Linked DNA regions of Homo sapiens: region 2 is linked to region 1. Evidence: promoter capture Hi-C in 16 types of primary human blood cells and fetal thymus (Javierre and others, 2016). All regions are on one chromosome and are shown on one strand. The core of a region is centred on a gene start or on the middle of the fragment in contact, and the rest is flanking DNA. Distances in the headings are between cores, read along the strand shown.

Region 1 (6,614 bases), core at 1-2,500:
GCCACCGCGCTCGGCCTCCCCCAGTATTCGTAAAATCGCTGCCCCTTAACATTCATTTCAATAGGACTAATTATCTAGGACCACTCCCGTTATCGTTTAAAACATGTTTTTCATAATTAAATTTTTTTTTTTTTTTGTAGAGACGGGGGTCTCGCTATGTTGCCTAGGCTAGTCTCGAACTCCTGTGTTCCAGCGATGCTCCGCCTTGGCCTACTAAAGTGCTGGGATCACAGGAATGAGCCCCCGCGCCCAGCCCAGGGCGTTATCTGATAAAGCTGTCCCCTCTCCCGAAGTCACGATGCGTCAAAGGCCCCACGCCCGTTCTCAAACTCATCAGGAGAAAAGCAGGACGCTGCATCCCTAAAACATCTGCCCCTGCCCCCCCCGCTCTGCTCAACCCTTCCCACACTCAATCGGTCAAATATCCACCCTCAACCTCATTCCCGCCGCCTAAGCCTAGCCCGGCCTCACATGATGGTCACTACGCTCTCCGTTCACTCCCGTTTCCTCCGCGTTGCTGCTGCCTGAGGAGAGAGAGGCGGGACTTCCTCTTCCTGCGACCCACTTCCGTTGGCGCCTGCGCAAAGCCAACCAGTAAGTGGAGGCGTGGCCTGTTGCCACAGCATTCCCCACCAACGGTGCACAATGATGGAATAAAAGCTTCGGGTAGGGGTTCGCGGCCAGTCAGAACCACACGGGGGCAGATGTTTATGACAATGAAGACAAAAGGAAAGGCAGTCTGATTCAAACCGTTTCTTGAAGAATGGTACAGGTTGAAGGAGGGAAATGACAAGCTATTTCCAAATGCCCGCCGGCCGTGACTTCGGGGGCGCGGCCTCCGTGAAGCCAATCCGCTCCTCGCTTCGGAGACAGGCACCGCCCCTCTTCCCTCTGGGACGCGTTACTGACGTATCTACTGATCTTTCCGACCCTGCGCCACCAATCCCCTGCCTACATCCGGAAGGGGCATGGACCTGCGCCCGGGAGATCGAATATTTTCCATGATCAAACGCTGTTCATTGGCTTTCCCTCCTCCGCTAAGGCGGAGCCTACTTCTCTTGCGCTCCCATTTGGGTCGTGCCATTCTCAGGGGAACCAACCCCAATACCTAAGGGAGGCTGGGAGGCGTGTCCTCAGGACCGTAGTTCTTATTGGTTTCGCTGCTCGCTGTGGGGTGGGCTGGTGCAGCCGCAGCTGTTGCTTATTGGCCCACCGATTCCATGGGGAGGAACTTGGCTGGGCCTAAACTCAATCCGTGGTCTGGTACAGGTTTCAGGGCAAAGCGGCCATGCGTTCCGGGGGCCGCGGGCGACCCCGCCTGCGGCTGGGGGAACGTGGCCTCATGGAGCCACTCTTGCCGCCGAAGCGCCGCCTGCTACCGCGGGTTCGGCTCTTGCCTCTGTTGCTGGCGCTGGCCGTGGGCTCGGCGTTCTACACCATTTGGAGCGGCTGGCACCGCAGGACTGAGGAGCTGCCGCTGGGCCGGGAGCTGCGGGTGAGGCTGGGCGGGGACCCGGGCACCGCGGGGACCCTCATTCCCTCCCCGCTGTTACCCAGGGTTGACGTGGCTTTAGCGTACGGCCCTAACCGCAGATGCCACCGTCTTCGTCATCTGAGCGCATGACCCTTACCAAAGGAATAAGGCTTCGGGCTGGTTCTGCAACAGTAGCTTCCTTTTAAGAGGAAAGGTCTGAAATAGTAAGACGGGGGGGTTCAGGGTTCTACGCCTTTAGTCAACTATTTGGAAGAGTCCCTTCCTCCATCTCCCCTCTCTCTCACTGGGCCTCGATTTCCCCATCAAGTTTGAGGTAGGCTGGACCGGATGGTCTTGGAAGGACTTTTCCTGAGCCTTGGATTTATCCTAGAAGTCTCCGATGCTGGAGGCGGCAGATTAGGAAGAGAACCCGGGGCTCCTCGCGGGTGACGGCGCCCGGGGTAGGGTTGAAATGGGGGGGTTGCTCTCATTCTTCCCTTCCCTATCCCACCTCCTTCCCAAGGTCCCATTGATCGGAAGCCTCCCCGAAGCCCGGCTGCGGAGGGTGGTGGGACAACTGGATCCACAGCGTCTCTGGAGCACTTATCTGCGCCCCCTGCTGGTTGTGCGAACCCCGGGCAGCCCGGGAAATCTCCAAGTCAGAAAGGTAAAGGGACCCACCTCCAGTCCCTGACCCCCTAGCCCTCCAGGGAATGGGAAATAAGAATCCTGTTCAAGATCCCAAAGAAGCTAAGAGGAGGAACTGGGGCTCTGACTGGAGTTAATCGGACTCTAGACTCCATGCTGGTAACAAACCACCAGGCTGTACTGCCCCCCTTAATGCCCCCACCAAAAGCTTACTGTGTGCTAGGCATAGGCAACAGACAGCCCTATAAGGTGGGTACCAATATGATCTTCATTATGCAGATGGGGAAACTGAGGCTCAGAGAGGTTATACACATTGCACAAATCCTACAGATAATAAGTAGTAGACCTTAGCCGGGTGCAGTGGCTCATGCCTGTAATCCCAGCACTTTGGGAAGCCAAGGTGGAAGAATCACCTGAGAAGTTTGAGACTAGCCTAGTCAACCTAGTGAGACCCAATGTTTAGAAAATCATAGACCTAGAGTTGAACCCAAACAGGTTGGCTCCGAGCTGGTGCTGTAATGTATCTGTTGTCTTCCAGAAAGCATGAAGAGTCATTTAAAGGCCAGGCGCAGTGGTTCACACCTCTAATCCCAGCACTTTGGGAGGCCGAGACAGGCAGATCCCTCGAGATCAGGAGTTTGAGACCAGCCTGGCCAACATGGTGAAACCTCATCTCTACTAAAAATACAAAATTAGCCAGGCGTGGTGGTGGGTACCCGTAGTCCCAGCTACTTGGGAGGCTGAGGCACGAGAATCACTTGAACCCAGGAGGCGGAGACTGCAGTGAGCTGAGATTGCGCCACTGCACCCCAGCATGGGTGACAGAGCGAGACTCCATCTCAAAAAAAAAAAGTCACTTAAATACTGCCTGAGTCCCAATGCTACCTCATCCACTTAGATTGTGACCTTGGACTGGTTTCTTTTTTATTTTATTTTATTTTATTTTATTTTGAGATGGAGTCTCACACTGTCGCCTGGGTTGGAGTGCAGTGGCGCGATCTCGGCTCACTGCAACCTCCACCTCCCAGGTTCAAGCAAATCTCATGCTTCAGCCTCCTGAGTAGCTGGGATTACAGGTGTGCACCACCATGCCTGGCTAATTTTTTGTATTTTTAGTGAGACGGGGTTTCACCATATTGGCCAGGCTGGTCTCAAACTCCTGACCTTATGATCCGCCCACCTCAGCCTCCCAAAGTGCTGGGATTACAGGCGTGAGCCACCGCGCCCGGCCTGGACTAGTTTCTTAACCTCTCTGAGCCCATTTCCTCATCTGTAAAATGGGGTCATGTATTGGCAGTCCCTCCCCTAAATGGTTCCTAGAAGAGGGCTTAGCACACAGTGAGAGCTATTTAAGGGTAAGCTGTGATGAGTCTTGCTGGCTTCAAGAGGTGGGGTCTCCCCAACATCTGGCACCCAGTAGGTACTCACCAGCACTGTCAAGGGAATGATTTTAATCAGAGTAGGGGGCTGGGCACAGTGGCTCACATCTGTAATCCCAACACTTTGGGATGCTGAAGCAGGCAGATCACTTGAGGTCAGGAGTTCGAATACCAGGCTGGCCAACATTGTGAAACCCCATCTCTACTAAAAATACAAAAAATAGCCAGGCGTTGTAGGGGGCGCCTGTAACCCCAGCTACTCAGGAGGCTGAGTCAGGAGAATCACTTGAAGCCAGGAGGCAGAGGTTGCAGTGAGCCAAGATCAAGCCACTGCACTCCAGCCTGGGTGACAGAGCAAGACTCCATCTCAAAAAAAAAAAGAAAGAAAGAAAGAAATCCATTCAATCAGAGTGGGGCTTTAGTGTCAACCCATCTGCTCTGCATGGCTCAGGTCACGTGGCCCTTCTCCCCACCTCCTCCCCAGTCCCCGTCCACCCTCCCACCTCTCTCTTGCCGCTAGTTCCTGGAGGCCACGCTGCGGTCCCTGACAGCAGGTTGGCACGTGGAGCTGGATCCCTTCACAGCCTCAACACCCCTGGGGCCAGTGGACTTTGGCAATGTGGTGGCCACACTGGACCCAAGGGCTGCCCGTCACCTCACCCTTGCCTGCCATTATGACTCGAAGCTCTTCCCACCCGGATCGACCCCCTTTGTAGGGGCCACGGATTCGGCTGTGCCCTGTGCCCTGCTGCTGGAGCTGGCCCAAGCACTTGACCTGGAGCTGAGCAGGGCCAAAAAACAGGTGAGGAGCAGGAGTCGGGGAGGGTAGTGGGCTACCTCCACCTTTTCCCAAGCCCCCACCCTCCCTTGCCTGGACATTTGTCATCCCTCTCGTCTTCCCACTCTACTCCACGCACAGAGCCACAGGGATCTTTTTTTTTTTTTTGAGACGGAGTTTCGCTCTTGTTCCCCAGGATGGAGTGCACATGGCGAGATCTTGGCTCCCCGCAACCTCTGCCTACTGGGTTCAAGCAATTCTCCTCCCAACCTCAGGTGATCTGCCCACCTCGGCCTCTCAAAGTGCTGGGATTACAGGCGTGAGCCACCGCGCCTGGTCATCACAGGGATCTTTTTACCTTCTAGATGTCAGATTCTCTTTCCTCTCCCCCAAACCCTCCCAGGGCTCCCGCCTCATTCCAGCCATAATCCAGAGTCCTTATATTGGCCCACGAGCTGTGCCCTGTTACCTCTCCAGCCTCATCTCCCACCCCTCACCTCTTGCTCACTCTGCTGTAGCCACCCCCACCTCCTCTGGGTTCCTCAAACCCGCAGAGCTTGCTCCCACCTCAGGGCATCTGCACTTGCTGTTTGCTTTGGATAGAATGTGCTTTTCTGGCCAGGCTCCGTGGCTCACACTTGGAATCCCAGCACTTTGGGAGGTTGAGGTGGGTGGATCACAAGGTCAGGAGTTCAAGACCAGCCTGGCCAACATGATGAAACCCCATCTCTACCAAAAACACAAAAATTAGCCAGGCTTGGTGGTGCACACCTGTAACCCCAGCTACTCGGGAGGCTGAAGCAGAGAATTGCTTGAACCCGGGAGGCGGAGGTTGCAGTGAGCCAAAGTTGCACCACTGCACTCCAGCCTGGGCAACAGAGCGAGACTCCATCTCAAAAAAAAAAAAAAATTATCTGGGAGTAGTGGCATGCTACTTGGGAGGCTGAGAGGGGAGGATGGCTTGAGTCTAGGAGTTTGAGACTGCAGTGAGCCATGATCGTGCCACTGTATTCTAGCCTGGGTGACAGAGACCTTGTCTCTTAAAAAAAAAAAAAAGAATATGCTTTTCATAGATATCTTCCTGGCTGGCTCCCACTCTTCACTCAGGTGTCCACTCCAATGTCACCCCTTCAAAGAGGCCTTCCCGGCCGGGCGTGGTAACTCGCACCTGTAATCCCAGCACTTTGGGAGGCCGAGGCAGGCAGATCATTTGAGGTCAGAAGTTCGAGCCCAGCTTGTCCAACAGGGAAACCTCATCTCTACTAAAAATACAAAAATTAGCTGGGTATGGTGGTACATACCTGTAATCCTACTACTTGGGAGGTTGAGACAGGAGGATCACTTGAAACTGAGAGGCGGAGGTTGCAGTGAGCCGAGATCGCACCACTGCACTCCAGCCTGGATGACAGAGCGAGATTCTGTCTCAAAACAAACAGAAAAGAAAAACACAGGCCAGGTGCGGTGGCTCACACCTGTAATCCCAGCACTTTGGGAGGCCAAGGCAGGTGGATCGTGAGGTCAGGAGATTGAGACCATCCTGGCTAACACAGTGAAACCCCGTCTCTACTAAAAATACAAAAAGTTAGCTGGGCGTGGTGGCGGGCGCCTGTAGTCCCAGCTACTTGGGAGGCTGAGGCAGGAGAATGGCGTGAACTCGGGAGGCAGAGTTTGCAGTGAGCCGAGATCGCGCCACTGTACGCCAGCCTGGGCGATACAGCGAGACTCCGTCTCAAAAAAAAAAAAAAGAAAGAAAAAAAAGAAAAGAAAAGAAAAACACAGATTTAATCATGCTCCTGCCCTGCTTAACCCCTCTCTGTGCCTCCCCAGTGTCCCTATAACAAAGCCCACACTCCTTGGCCCTTGCTAAACCTTCCGTACCCCTCTCAAACCTCTGGGACCCCTTCCCTGGCCATAGCCTTGCCCTGTGTTGCTCCCTTGGCTGGGAATACTCTTCCTCCTGCTCCATTTTGCCAGGCCAGTTCCTACCCATTCTCATGGCAAACATCCCTTCCCAAAAGACCCAACGCCCTCTCCAGGCCAGGTCATCCCCCAGCCTCCTTCCTATGCCCTCTCAGGACTCTATAGTTCTTAGAAGCATTTGTCTCAACTGCATTTCACTGTTTGTATAATTATTCATTTGTGGATCTATCTGGTTCACCAAACTGAGCTTGAGGAATAATAATCAGAGATAACCCTTATTTAGTTATATGCCAGGCACTGTTCTAAGACCTGGATTCAAACCTTACCCTTTGAAAAGAACTGTTATTGCCGGGCGCGGTGGCTCACATCTGTAATCCCAGCACTTTGGGAGGCTGAGGTAGGTGGATCATTTGAG
Region 2 (6,614 bases), core at 1,984-4,483, 650 kb before region 1:
TCAACCCCAGTTCCACAACAGCTGTGTGAGCCTTCCATTTACTTTCCCTCAGTGCCTTAGTTTACTTATTATTAATTATTTTTAGAGATAAGGTCTTGCTCTGTTGCCCAGGCTGGAGTGCAGTGGTGTGATCATACTTCGCTGCAGCCTCAAACTGGGCTCAAGCAATCCTCCTGCCTCAGACTGCCAGGTAGCTGGGACTACAGGCGGGCACCACCACACCCAGCTAACTTTTAAATAATTTTTTTGTAGAGACAGGGTCTCGTCACGTTGTGCTGGGATTACAGGTGTGAACCACCACGCTTGGCCTTCAATTTACTTATTATCTGAGAATGGTGATAGTCCCACACGGATTCTCCTTGGGATTAAGAGGGCACCTAAGGCCAGGCTTGGTGGCTCACACCTGTAATCCCAGCACTTTGGGAGGCCGAAGCAGGTGGATCACCTGAGGTCAGGAGTTCGAGACCAGCCTGGCAAACATGGTGAAACCCCGTCTCTACTAAAAAGATAAGAATTAGCTGGGCATGGCACATGCCTGGCCTGTAGTTCCAGCTACTCAGGAGACTGAGGCAGGGGAATCAACTTGAACTGGGGAGGCAGAGGTTGCAGTGAGCCAAGAGCACGTCATTGCACTCCAGCCAGGGTGACAGAATGAGACTCCATCTCAGAAAAAAAAAAAAAAAGGCCACCTTGATATCACATTTTGCAGGGAGTAGGGCATTTGATTTAGGGCCTGATCAGAAGTTAGCCCTAAATCACACTACACTTCTCTTGTCTTCATCCCCGTAGGCCCGTTCCTCCCGCCGTCAGCCCTGCTGCCAGACCCTGACTTCTTCTCTGGCACCGTGTCCCTGCCCGGCCTGGAGCCCCCTGGCGGGCCTGACCTCCTGGACGATGGCTTTGCCTACGACCCTACGGCCCCCACACTCTTCACCATGCTGGACCTGCTGCCCCCGGCACCGCCACACGCTAGCGCTGTTGTGTGCAGCGGAGGTGCCGGGGCCGTGGTTGGGGAGACCCCCGGCCCTGAACCACTGACACTGGACTCGTACCAGGCCCCGGGCCCCGGGGATGGAGGCACCGCCAGCCTTGTGGGCAGCAACATGTTCCCCAATCATTACCGCGAGGCGGCCTTTGGGGGCGGCCTCCTATCCCCGGGGCCTGAAGCCACGTAGCCCCGCGATGCCAGAGGAGGGGCACTGGGTGGGGAGGGAGGTGGAGGAGCCGTGCAATCCCAACCAGGATGTCTAGCACCCCCATCCCCTTGGCCCTTCCTCATGCTTCTGAAGTGGACATATTCAGCCTTGGCGAGAAGCTCCGTTGCACGGGTTTCCCCTTGAGCCCATTTTACAGATGAGGAAACTGAGTCCGGAGAGGAAAAGGGACATGGCTCCCGTGCACTAGCTTGTTACAGCTGCCTCTGTCCCCACATGTGGGGGCACCTTCTCCAGTAGGATTCGGAAAAGATTGTACATATGGGAGGAGGGGGCAGATTCCTGGCCCTCCCTCCCCAGACTTGAAGGTGGGGGGTAGGTTGGTTGTTCAGAGTCTTCCCAATAAAGATGAGTTTTTGAGCCTCCGGGGTTTCGTCTGTTCTGGGCTTGGGAAACGCCCTAGTCCCTTAGTAGCAAAGAAAGCCTCCAGGCTGGGGGCTCAGGCCTGTCATCCCAGCACTTTGGGAGGCCAAAGCAGGAGGATCGCTTGAGCTCACGAGTTTGAGACCAGCCTGGGCAACATGACGAAACCTAGTCTCTACAAAAAATACAAAAATTAGCCGGGCGTGGTGCTGCGCGCCTGTAATCCCAGCTACTCTAGAGGCTGAGGTGGGAGGATCGCTTGAGCCCAGGAGGTGGACGTTGCAGTGAGCCAAGACCGCACCACTGCACTCCAGCTTGGGCGACAGCGCGAGGCTGTGTCTCAAAAAAATAAAAAATGAAAATGAAAATAAAAAATGAGACCGGGCATGGTGGCTCATGGCTGTAATCCCAGCACTTTGGGAGGCCGAGGCAGGTGGATCACCTGAGGTCAGGAGTTTGAGACCAGCCTAACCAAAATGGTGAAACCCCATCTCTACTAAAAATACAAAAATTAGCCGGGCTTGGTGGCGCGCGCTTGTAGTCCCAGCTACTCGGGAGGCTGAGGTGGGAGAATAGCTGAAACCCAGGAGGCAAAGGTTGCAGTGAGCCTAGATCGCGCCACTGCCTTCTAGCCTGGGAGACAAAGAGAGACTCCGTCTCAAAAAAATAAAATTAAATAAATAAATAAAATAAAAAAGATAAAAAGATAAAGCATCCAAGCTCTTCCCTTCTCCGCTCTCCCACTTCTTCCTCGGGATCCCGCCCCTCTCGACTCTAGGACCCGCCTCTCTCGTCGGCGGAAGTGCGCTGCGCGGCCCTCCACCATGCTCCGCCCCCTCCCCCTAGCGCGGCCTTTCATTTCCGCTTCCGGTGCGGGCCGCGCGCGAGCGCAGCGGTGGGAGGCGGCGACCAGCCGGTGAGTGCAGGCTGCGGCTCGACCTCCCGGTTTTCGGGCAGGCCTCAGCCCAGCTTCTCCCTTTCCTCAGGCTCTCCCCATGCTGCTGTGGGCTTCTGCTGCGTCCCGGCCCCGAGGATCGCTCGTCCCTCACCCCATTAGGCCTGACGGGCCTCAGGCCGAGCCCGTGCCCCGGCTGTGGGCCAGAAGTTGCCGCGTCGAACTCGGCCTTCGGCCCAGCAGCTTATCACAGGCCCCGCCCCCTTGTCAAAAAAAAAAACAACAAAAAAAAAACCCAGCCCAAATCCTCAGGCCGCGACGCGATCCACAAGCCCCGTCCAAACCTTCGGTCTCCGCCCTTTCCCGCAAGCCCTGCCCCCAAGCTCAGCCCACGCCCTCCTGTCAGCCAGCTCCGCCTCTCTCAGGCTCTACGCTCTTTTTCTTTGGATGCTCTCCCCACCCCGCCATCTAGATCCCATCTTTAGACCTCAGCTTCACTCTGGTCTCCTTGCAACACTCCCTCCCCGTGTTCCCACTCCCTCTAGCATCTTCATCTTCCGCCACGCCCTTCACCTGTCCTCGACCTCCACCTTCATACAACTGCACTGTTCCCTTAAAAGCTTTCTCCGATTTCCTCCACCTGCCTTCATCCTTATTCTCCTTATCCCTCTACCACCCAGACTCATACCCAACCCCACGCATGGCCCCTAGTGGGAGCCTTTTCAGTTCTTCTCTTTCTCTTGAGCTCCAGCCTTAAGTGCTCAGGGTTTGCCTTCTGACCCTACTTCAAACACTGCTGATGTTTCAAAACCTTTCATTCCCGACTCCAGCGCGTGGAATCTAGGACACCCCTTTCCCAGTGATGCTCACCTCAGAATCACCTGAGGGTTTTTCAGAATGCCCAAGCTTCTAGATCGAAGTTGTTAGGGATGGACTTGAACATCTGGCATACTGTTCTGCAGCTTCACTTCTGCTCCCTGAAGCTAAGAGATGTGTTGTTTGGGATCGACTCTGCCACCAACTTGTTAGATGACTTTGATTCTGCCCATACGGGTTTCACAGACCATCTGACTTTCCTGGTCCCTTCATCCCTCAGGTTGAGGCCCCAGGCTTGGCCTCACCACAATGTGGCACGAGGCTCGGAAGCATGAGCGGAAGCTTCGAGGCATGATGGTCGACTACAAGAAGAGGGCGGAGCGGAGACGGGAGTATTATGAAAAGATCGTGAGTAACTGGCCTTTTGTCTGGGGTGAGGGACCCTGGGTTGGGGGGCACAGCTGGTCATCCTGGTAAAATCTGGGCTTGGAAGTATGTCAAGACAAGAGGCTCATTTCCTCAGGAGTATATTCATTAATCTTTTCTTGAGGATAATCATTGGTGGGATCCCAAGGGCTTCTGTTTGTTGTAGCATACTGTGTCGTTTGGTGTGGCCTCCCAGTGCCGATCCGGTGTTAGCAAGAAAAAGGGAAGTCTCTGTAACCCTCAGAGCAGTCCTGACGTTAGACTGGCCACCTCCAGAATGTCTGTTTCGCTTATTGCTGTGTTCCCCATTCCCAGAAGAGCTCAGCCACTCTTGAGATTTGGCTTGGCACACAATAGGAGTGAGTATTAAGTTGGCCTGGCACAGTGGCTCACGCCTGTAATCCCAAGTGGATCACCTGAGGTCACGAGTTCGAGACCAGCCTGGCCAAAAGGGTGAAACCCCATCTCTACTAAAGATACAAAAATTAGCCAGGCTTAGTGGTGTGTGCATGTAGTCCCAGCTACTTGGGAGGCTGACGCACGAGAATTGCTTGAGCCCGGGAGGAGGAGGCTGTAGTGCATGGAGATTGTGCCACTGAACTCCAGCCTGGGTGACAGAGCAAGACTCAACGCCTGTAATCCCAGCACTTTGGGAGGCCGAGGTGGACAGATCACAAGGTCAAGAGATCGAGACCGTCCTGGCTAACACGGTGAAACCCCATCTCTATTAAAATACAAAAAATTAGCCAGGTGAGGTGGCGGGTGCCTGTAGTCCCAGCTACTCGGGAGGCTGAGGCAGGAGAATGGTGTGAACCGGGGAGGGGGGCAGAGCGGAGCCTGCAGTGAGCTGAGATAGCACCATTGCACTCCAGCCTGGGCGACAGCGAGACTCTGTCTCAAAAAAAAAAAAAAAAAGACTGTCTCAAAAAAAAAGGAGTGAATATTAAGTGAAACCTGACCACTTCCCTCTCCTGTCTGATGCTTCAGTTGTTTTTGCGGGGAAGACCAAACTATCCCTGGCCTAAAAGACCCTTGTGGTCTGACCACTCAGCTTCATACTCGGACAGCTCCACTGGCCTTCTATTTCTGCCACCACAGGGCTTTGGCCTATATTACCCCCCCTCACCTATTTAACTCCTGTGTATCCTTGGGATCCCAGCTTGAAATGGCACCTGTTTTCTAGGTTCAGTGTTCCTGTCAGATGACATTTATATAGACCTTTCCCAGTTATTCCTGTATTACTGCCCCAGCCTCCTCCCTGGTCTGCTGGCCTCCAGTCCTGGCTCCTCCAGTCTGTCCTTCCTAGAAGAGTCCAAGAGGCCTTTCTAAAGCACAAAACTGACCCTGTCCCTTCGTTGCTCAGAGCACCTCTATGCCTCCTAAGTGCCCTTGAGAGAAAGCCCAGGCTCCTCACTGTGGCCTTTAGGGTCCTGCATGGCCTGGCCTTTGCCCTTCCTCCAGACTCACACCACCCCACACTCTGCCTTGTTCCTTTGCACAAGTCATTTTGGCCTCCTTGCTATTCCTCCACTGACCCAAGCGCTCCCCAGCCACAGGACCTTTGTATGAGCTCTTCCCATACCTGGTTAACTACTGCTTATCTGTCAGATCTCAGTCCTCAGAGAAGTCTTGTTTCCCAAGCTCAGTCAGGTGTCCTCTAAAAATGCCATAATCATAGCTCCCTTTCCTTCCCCTTTGTGGAATTTAACACACTTAAGATACACATACATGGGCCTGGTGTGGTGGCTCACGCCTGTAATCCCAGCATTTTGGGGGCCAAGGCAGGTGGATCACCTCAGGTCAAGAGTTTGAGACCAGCCTGGCTAACATGATGAAACCTCGTCTCTACTAAAAATACAGAAATTAGCTGGAGGTGGTGAGGAGCCTGGGCTTTCTCTCAAGGGCACTTAGGAGCCATAGAGGTGCTCTGAGCAATGAAGGGACAGGGTCAGTTTTGTGCTTTAGAAAGGCCTCCTGGACTCTTCTAGGGAGGACAGACTGGAGGAGCCAGGACTGGAGGCCAGCAGACCAGGGAAGAGGCTGGGGCAGTAATACAGGAGTAAATGGTAATCCCAGCTACTCGGGAGGCTGAGGCAGGAGAATTGCTTGAACCCGGGAGGCATAGGTTGCATTGCTCTCCAGCCTGGGCAACAGAGTGAGACTCCATCTCAAAAAAAAAATTTATATATATATATATATGTGTGTGTATGTATGTATACACACACGCACACACATACGCATACACAGGTTGAACATCCCTAATTCAAAATCCGAAATGCTCCAAAATCTTTTTTTTTTTTTGAGGCAGAGTCTTGCTTAGTCGCCCAGGCTGGAGTGCAGTGGCATGATGTCAGCTCACTGTAACGTCCACCCCCCAGGTTCAAGCTATTCTCCTGCCTCACTCAACCTCCTGAGTAGCTGGAATTACAGGCATGTGCCACTATGCCTGGCTAATTTTTGCACTTTTGGTAGAGACAGGGTTTCACCATGTTGGTCAGGCTAGTCTTGAACTCCCGACCTCAAGTGATTTGCTTGCCTCGGCCTCCCAAAGTGCTGGGATTACAGGCGTGAGCCACCACGCCCGGCTAGCTCCAAAATCTGAAACTTTCTGCATACTGACATGATGCCCCACTATAAGTGGAAAGTTTCACATATAAGTACTTTACACAAACTTTGTTTCATGCACAAAATTATTTAAAATATTGTATACAATTACCTTCAGGCTGTGCTTATAAAGTATAAATGAATTTGGTCTTTGGACTTGGGTGCCATCCCTAAGATATCTCATTATGAATAGACAAATATTCCAAAATCTGAAAAAATCTGAAGCACCTCTGATCCCAAGCACTTCAGATAAGGAATACTTTGTGTGTGTGTGTGTGTGTGTGTGTGTGTGTGTG

Evidence for each region. Contacts are between HindIII fragments. The CHiCAGO score rates a contact against its expected background, and 5 or more counts as called.
Region 2: a contact is called between a fragment that was not itself captured here and the fragment with the promoter of QPCTL in region 1, in 1 of 17 cell types (total CD8 T cells). The highest score is 6.0, in total CD8 T cells.

Annotation. Positions count from the first base shown.
Region 1 is chr19:45,691,416-45,698,029 of GRCh38, forward strand. QPCTL (glutaminyl-peptide cyclotransferase like) reads left to right here and starts at 1,251. Exons shown (of 7, transcript NM_017659.4): 1 at 1,251-1,495; 2 at 1,998-2,141; 3 at 4,022-4,303. The coding sequence starts at 1,289. SNRPD2 (small nuclear ribonucleoprotein D2 polypeptide) reads right to left here and starts at 538. Exons shown (of 3, transcript NM_001384647.1): 1 at 472-538. The coding sequence starts at 473. RefSeq lists enhancers at 74-794, 613-742, 753-882, 1,408-1,958. The HindIII fragment of the contact is 1,670 bases long and covers 659-2,328 here.
Region 2 is chr19:45,036,616-45,043,229 of GRCh38, forward strand. It overlaps CLASRP (CLK4 associating serine/arginine rich protein), which reads left to right and starts at 2,430. Exons shown (of 21, transcript NM_007056.3): 1 at 2,430-2,493; 2 at 3,569-3,696. The coding sequence starts at 3,598. It overlaps RELB (RELB proto-oncogene, NF-kB subunit), which reads left to right. Exons shown (of 12, transcript NM_006509.4): 12 at 790-1,577. The coding sequence ends at 1,175. RefSeq lists an enhancer at 2,104-2,973. The HindIII fragment of the contact is 286 bases long and covers 3,091-3,376 here.